Linked DNA regions of Homo sapiens: region 1 is linked to region 2. The links are contacts of gene promoters, found by promoter capture Hi-C in human tissues and cell types (Jung and others, 2019). All regions are on one chromosome and are shown on one strand. Each heading gives the region's core, a stretch centred on a gene start or on the middle of the fragment in contact. The rest is flanking DNA. Distances are from core to core; before and after follow the strand shown. Region 1 overlaps CAPZB (capping actin protein of muscle Z-line subunit beta). Region 2 holds the start of NBL1 (NBL1, DAN family BMP antagonist).

Evidence for each region. Contacts are between HindIII fragments. The study calls those that stand out against the background at their distance.
Region 1: a contact is called between a fragment that was not itself captured here and the fragment with the promoter of NBL1 in region 2, in 7 of the 25 tissues and cell types used here (H1 embryonic stem cells, IMR-90 fibroblasts, heart left ventricle and 4 more).

Annotation. Positions count from the first base shown.
Region 1 is chr1:19,402,981-19,406,619 of GRCh38, forward strand. The region is part of intron 2 of CAPZB (capping actin protein of muscle Z-line subunit beta); the gene reads right to left. Among named protein-coding and RNA genes, the nearest start is that of CAPZB, 81 kb to the right of the region's middle. RefSeq lists an enhancer at 1-236. The HindIII fragment of the contact is 4,541 bases long and covers 1-3,582 here.
Region 2 is chr1:19,642,200-19,645,632 of GRCh38, forward strand. It overlaps NBL1 (NBL1, DAN family BMP antagonist), which reads left to right and starts at 2,112. Exons shown (of 4, transcript NM_005380.8): 1 at 2,112-2,247. All of the region lies in intron 1 of MICOS10-NBL1 (MICOS10-NBL1 readthrough), which reads left to right. RefSeq lists an enhancer at 1,124-1,959 and a silencer at 1,858-2,197. The HindIII fragment of the contact is 7,978 bases long and covers 1-3,091 here.

The DNA.
Region 1 (3,639 bases), core at 62-2,561, 240 kb before region 2:
AGAGGTTGCAGTGAGCCAAGATTGTGCCATCACACTCCAGCCTGGGCAACAAGAACAAAACTCCATCTCTAAAACAAAACAAAAAAAAAGAAGCCTTGCATTCTATCCATCCTGGGTTATCTGGCTCCCACCGTGGCTATGAGCTCTTTAAAGACACAACTATTCTGTTGTCACTCTGACCCTGGTGCTTCAGCTTAGGCAGGGCCTTGCATTCATGGGGGCTCAAGTAGGCATGCACTCACTGAATGTCCGCTTCAGGCTTGACAGTGGGGATACAAAGGTGAACAAAAGAAAAGATCCCTGCCCTCCAAGAGCCAAAGCTCCTAGGATGGAGCAAGTCCAAGAGACAGGAGAAGCAAGGGGCATGCTGGGGGGCAGGGTGAGGGAAGTGAGGCTCCAGCGGAGATGGGAAGATGAGCAGTTAGAGGGAGCAGAGTTGGTGTGGACATGTGTCCCAGTCAAGGAAACGGCATGTACAAAGATGCAACAAGACAGGGCACAGGCCTGGGAGTGTGCAAGACAAGGAGACAGGAGGAAGGGGCAGGGCCAGATCAAGAGCTCTTCCACCTAGATGTGTTCTCCGGGCTTGATCCCGACAATGTGGAGTCATTAAGGGACATTATCCGAAGTGCATTTTGGCAAGACTACTCTGTATGCAGAGCAGGCAGGGGATGACAGGCAGGAAGGCCTGTCTACAGGCTATTATAACACTCCAGTAATGCAGGGAGGAGCAGTAGCAATAAACATTCATTGAACTGCTCTAAAATGAGGATTGGGACATACCTTCACCCAACAGGCTGGATAAGGTGGATGGCACTCTGTAAAAAAGTGACCCCGCTTTGGGCAGGTGGAACTACATCTCCACTGGCCTTCAGCAGCCTGAGCTGCACCCAGTGCCCCTTCTGCCTGCCTCCCTCCTGGACTCCAGCCGCAGTTCCTCCCTGTCACATGCCCTACTTAACGCCTGCAGCATCAAGACTCAAGAGGTTGAAGTACAAGAGGTAACAGTAGTAGGCCGGGCACGGTGGCATCACTTGAGGTCGGGAGTTTGAGACTAGCCTGGCCAACATGGTGAAATCTCGTCTCTACTAAATATACAAAAATTAGCTGGCTATAGTGGTACACACCTGTAGTCCCAGCTACTCGGGAGGCTGAAGCAGGAGAATCGCTTGAATTGGGCAGGCAGAAGTTGCAGTGAGCCAAGATCGTACAACTGCACTCCAGCCTGGGAGACAGACTGAGACTCCATCTCAAAAAAAAAAAAAAAAAAAAAAAAAATATGGCTGGGCGCAGTGGCTCATGCCTGTAATCTCAGCACTTTGGGAGGCCGAGGCAGGCAGATCACTTGAGGTCAGGAGTTTGAAACCAGCCTGGCCAAATTGGTAAAACCGCATCTCTACTAAAAATACAAAACTTAGCCAGGCACGGTGGTACAGGCCAGTAGTTCCAGCTATTCCAGACGCTGAGGCTGGAGAATCACTTGAACTCGGGAGGTGGAGGCTGCAGTGAGACGAGATCACGCCACTGTACTCCAGCCTGGGTGACAGAGCAAAACTCCATGTTAAAAAAAAAAAAAAAAAAAAAGAGGTAATGGGAAAAATGCTCGCTTGTCATTGCAAGATCTGAGCTCACCTCACAGTCCCTCTCCCACCTGGAAGAAGGCAGGACATTTCAGAGCCCGATCAAGCAGCATTCACCCACCTATCTGGCCAAACAGGGAAACGCAGGCTGCTTTTGACAAGGGGCACGCACCCTCCTCCTTAAAAGGACAGCTCAGCAATCATGGGAAAGCAGTGGATTCCAGCCGCTCCTGTCAGGGATTCCACCACCTTCTTTGGATGATTTGCACCAAGTATTTTCCCTACATGACTTCCTTTAATATTCACAATTGTCCTCTTTTAGAGTGAGGCAAATCCAGAATTCTCTCCATTACACAGATGAGGAAACTGAGGCCTGGAGTCTGGTAGCTTACCGAGGGTCACCTAGATATTCAGGATGCATGCTCCCAGCCCCAGCTAACTCATGACTCCGTGACCTTAAAGACTCTGTCCATATACTGCCACCTGCCGGGACCACCAGCCCTTGAGTCCCAGGGGCTGAGGTCTCCTGAGTCATAGCTCAGCTCCAAGAGGCATCCGTCCCTTCTCATCTCTGGGTCTCAGATCACACAGCCTAGAATGTCTAATGTGGACTCCCCTCAGAATTTGGGGATAGCAGGGTTTTTGGTTCATTATCTCATATTTATTTGTGGCCATATCGACATGTGGCCAGGCACTGTGTTAGGGTCTGGGGATAGAGGTGAGCATCATGGCATCCCGCAGGTGCTCGGAAGCCAGAGGGCCCTCCAGTGCTAAGAGTACAGTTACAGCACACAGCAGTGCTTTCAGTGCGTTAGATAAAACGTGGAGATTTGGCTGCCCCTACAGGCAGCGTTTGGGACTAGGAAGGTCAATGAGACAGGAAAACAATGCGGGCGAAGAAGTATTAAGCCTCTTTAAAACACCTGATGTACATATCTCCTCTACTCCCAACTGATGTTCAACACATAGCTAGAAAGAGGCAAAAAAAAAAAAAAAAAAAAAAAATCCCCTTGTATGAAGGATAATCCTTTCAGCCTGGGGCAAATCTCCTGAAGAGTTTTGTTCTGAACTAGGAGTGTTGTTTTAGCTTCCAGTCAATAGTAATTAAGAGTCCCAATATATTCCAGAAAGAGGGAGAGGGAGATTAACGATCATTAAATCTCTTCTGCATTTGGCTCCAAATCTCTTTTCGGAGGGGCCGGCTGTCAGATGATCCCTCCAAAGCGTCCATCTGACAGCACTCCCGCCGCCACCATCTGGAACATCAATTCGAGAGCTCGCCTGAAGGTTTCAATTACATAAAAGGCAATGGGCCCATTAGGACCCGAGAGTCTGGAGCTTCACAAGCGCTGCTCACACCCCCTCTCCTGTACACAAAGCCTCTAGAATTTGGTTGGCAGTCATTTGCAAAGGGACTCATTTTGGTGGGGGCATGGGGCTGGCCAGCCCCTTGGCAAGGCCTCTCTCAGGCAGGCTCTGTGCGTGCTATGACTGACAGGGTCTCTAATGAACCTTAATTGTGAGCTCGACAGGCCCAGGAAGGCAGCCACAGATGTGGCAAAGGGCAACCGCAAACCGTCTGATTAGTGAATAAGAAGTGTCCGGCCCAGTGAGGGCCAATGACCCAAAAAAGGAGGAGGGCGGGACTATTCCTCCCCCACGCATCCCTTCTAAAGCTCTGAAGCTTCTTTATGTAAGCAATGCAAAGCCTCTGGGTGCACTGGAACCCAACGCACCCCTCCCCCCGGCACTACTGCTTGGCAGCTGGCAGCTGGGATGTTGGGGTCTTGTGCTTGTTACCACGGATGCTTCCGTCTCCATCAGCAGTGCACCTTTAACCACAGGAGGCCAGAACAGAACGCCCTTTCAACGTGGGAAGGGGGAAGCTACCCACTACGGAGACTGAGTAACTTCTTGCCGGTGCTAAGAATTGTGAAGACAGCTGCATTCAGAGTCAGCCATCCTCTGGTGACCTGCAGTGACAAGGAGAAAGCTACTCCTGGGGCAGCTTTGGGCACAAACAGCGTGACGGAGAAGACAGGCTTTGCAGACGGGTAGA
Region 2 (3,433 bases), core at 862-3,361:
CGAACTCCTGACCTCAAGTGATCCTCCTGCCTTGGCCTCCCAAAGTGCTGGGATTACAAGCATGAGCCACTGCGCCTGGCACTTTTAAAACAGAGACAATACTTACCTCATAGGTTTATTGTGAGAGTGGCAACAGCTTGCAATGGGATGAGGCACATGGTAAGGTGCTCAATATGTGTGAACTATTATAACGGTCATAGTTACCATTAAGGGAAGACCTATCTGTGCTACATTAATGGGGGATAATAATTACTTTATTCGCTGGGCGTGGTGGTTCATGCCTATAATCCCAACACTTTGGGAGGCTGAGGCGGGAGGATCACTTGAGGCCAGGAGTTGGAGACCAGCCTGGGCAACATGGCAAAACCCCATCTCTACTAAAAATACAAAAACTAGCTGGGCGTGGTGGTGGGCGTCTGTAATCCCAGCTACTCGGGAGGCTGAGAATTGCTGGAACCTGGGAGGCAGAGGTTGCAGTGAGCCGAGATCACGCCATTGCATTTCAGCCAGGGCAACAAGAGCAAAATTCTGTCTCTAATAATAATAATAATAACAACAACAACAACAACAACAACAACTTCATTCAACCAAATACATTGTACATCTCACCTGGCCTGCCCATAAGCAATGGAGACACTGAAATAAACACGATTCCTGCCCTCAAGGTCTAATGGAGGAAAGAGATGTACACAGCTATTCTAGAGGGAAATTGACATGAACAGAAGTTCTCATCCTGTGCTCCAGGATCACACTGGAGGAGGGAGATGCTCCCAGAGGGTCTTGGGAAGGCTTTCCAATCTGGAGCTGGAAGAATGTTTGCCCAAGAGATGTACACAGTTATTCTAGAGGGAAATTGACATGAACAGAAGTTCTCATCCTGTGCTCCAGGATCACACTGGAGGAGGGAGATGCTCCCAAAGGGTCTTGGGAAGGCTTTCCAATCTGGAGCTGGAAGAATGTTTGCCAGAGATGAAAGGAGGGGAAGGGAATTCCGGGCAGAGGGAAGGGCGCAGGCAACAGCTAGGAGGCGCAGATGCAGGCTGGGTGTGGAGGGTGCGAGTAGGCTGGAGTACACCAGGGAGTTCCCAGCAGGCCACTAGGAGCCACCCAGGATGCCCGGCAACCTCATGAGTCAGACAAGCAGGGCTGTGTCTATCTGGAAGTTTCCAGCCAAGCTAGGTAAAACACATGGACACAGGTAACTATGCTGTAAAGCAAAATCCCCAAGTCCTACAATCGTGTCCCAGTGGTGTCCCTGGGCCACCACTTTCCAGAAGCAAAGTTATTTTCTCACCCCGTTGTTAAGCACACAGAATAGAGAAGGTACGGCCGCAATCCACCCAAGTGCCCACTGATTAGATAGGAACCCCCGAGGTGAGGCTGGAAGCTGGGGCCAGGAGCTCCACTCTTCCCAGGAGTCAGAGAAGTGAGTTCATTTGCTGGCTTTTTAGTTCCTAATAAGTCCCTGGGGCTTTTCGGGATGCTTAAGCCAAGGGCGTGGGGCCGAGAGCGACACTAGGATAACACTAGGCAAGGCTGAGCAACCCAGGCTACCAACAGCACGGACTTGAACCGGGTCGCATGCCGGAGCGGACGGGATGAGGTGCACCGCAGAACTGGGGACTCCTGGTGCCGGGACGCGGCGGGCTGGGGCGCCCCACTCTCGGGGCAAGTCTGCAATGCCCGGTGCCCACAAAAAGGACACATCCATCTTTGTCACCCCGAGGCCTGGCACGGCCTGACGGCCCAGGCTCGGTAAAAGTCGGGCGGAGAGAGTGGAAGCGCAGAGAAACCCGGGGAGGGCGCTTAAGAACGGGCCAGGGCGCCCGGCTGGGCTGCCCTGCCTCTCGGGCGCCGGCCAGGCGTCCCGGCCGCCCCACCACGCCGTCGGAGCGCGCCGAAGCTCAGCCCGGGGCGGGCGGGCCAGGAGAGGGCCCGGGGCCCCTGCCGCCGCGGCGCCCCCTCCTGCGCACCCGGAGGGAGAGGCCGCGCGCGCCCGCCCGCTCTTTCTGCGCGCGGCCCTCCCCGCTGCCCCCGCCCTCGCGCCCTGTTTGGAGGGAGCCACCCTGACGTCGGAGCCGCTCCCCCGCGCCGCGCGCCCGCCCGGGGCCGCAGACAGCGCGCAGCGCAGCCCAGCCGAGCGTCGCGGGGCCGCCCCCCGCCCTGCCGGCCGCCTCGCCGAGCCTCCTGGGGCGCCCGGGCCCGCGACCCCCGCACCCAGCTCCGCAGGACCGGCGGGCGCGCGCGGTAAGTCCCGCCCGGGTCGGCACGCGGGCGCCCGGCTTCCAGAGGCTTCGGCCGCGGGGGCAGTGCCGCGCCCCCAGCCCGGAGCTGCGTCCCCCGGCGCGTCCGGCGGCCGCGGGCACCGGGTGGAGGCGCCGCCGCCGAGCTCAGGAGCCCTGGGGGACCTGGCGGGCGCCTCCGGACGCCGGCGCTGGGGACGTGGGCGCGGCACGGGGTGGCCGGGGGGCACCGCCGCGTCCGGAGCCCGTCCCCAGACTCGCCCCAGGGTTCCGTTTCTGGATCGGAGTTTCCGCGGCCGGGGGAGAGAGGGAGCGAGGGAGGGAGATGCGTGGCCGGGCGGGCCGGGCTCGCATGTCCCCCGGCCGTGCCCGGGCCTCGCCGCGCCGCGCCTCTCGGCTCTGGACGTTTCCGCCTCCCGCGGCCCCCTCTGCTTCGGTCCCCACGTCCGTGTGTCTGTCTCTCCGTCGCTCCGTTTCCGCCGCTCACTTTCCCCTGGTCTGCCCGTCTCTTTCCGTTCCCCGCCTGCCTCCGTGTTCGGCTGCCCGCGTTTGTGTCTCTGCCTCTGGCTTTTCTCTCCCTCTCTCTGTCTCTGCGCTGCCCTCTGTGGGGGTCTCGCCCTGTGTCTGCGCCTCTCCCTGATCCCCCGCCCTCCGATCCAGACAATCCCCCAGTGTCGGAGGCTCGCCTTCCCCCAGCGGGGTTCACGAATAGTTTCCTAGACCGGGTGCGGCAAACCCTCCCCCTGCCTCCCGCCGGCCCCGAGGCCTGGCCCGGGTCATCTCCCTGGAATTGAGTCTGGGGCAGGGAGAGCCAGCCTTTCCGGGGGCTCAGTTTTCTTAAGAATTCCACCCCCGCGAGGCCGGCTGGACGACAGGCCCTGCTGCGGGCCACCTGCCCGGCCCGCTCCCAGGGCGGGGCGATTCTGATCGTTTACAAGCGGCGGCAAAGGGGGCAGCCGCCTGCCTTGGCGTGGCCGGAGGTTGGCGGGCATCAAGGGAGAAAGCCACACTTCCAGGCTTTCGGAGGCCCTCGCTCCCCAAGCTGGACGCCACCAGCCTGTAACTAGGGGCACCCCAGGAAAACAGAGGTCAGGGCTGGAGGCCAAAGACCGGGCGCTGGCGGGGAAGCAATTTGTCAACAAGGAGCCCCTCACCCTTTGTTACTGCGGAATGGGGCCTCCCTAGACTCC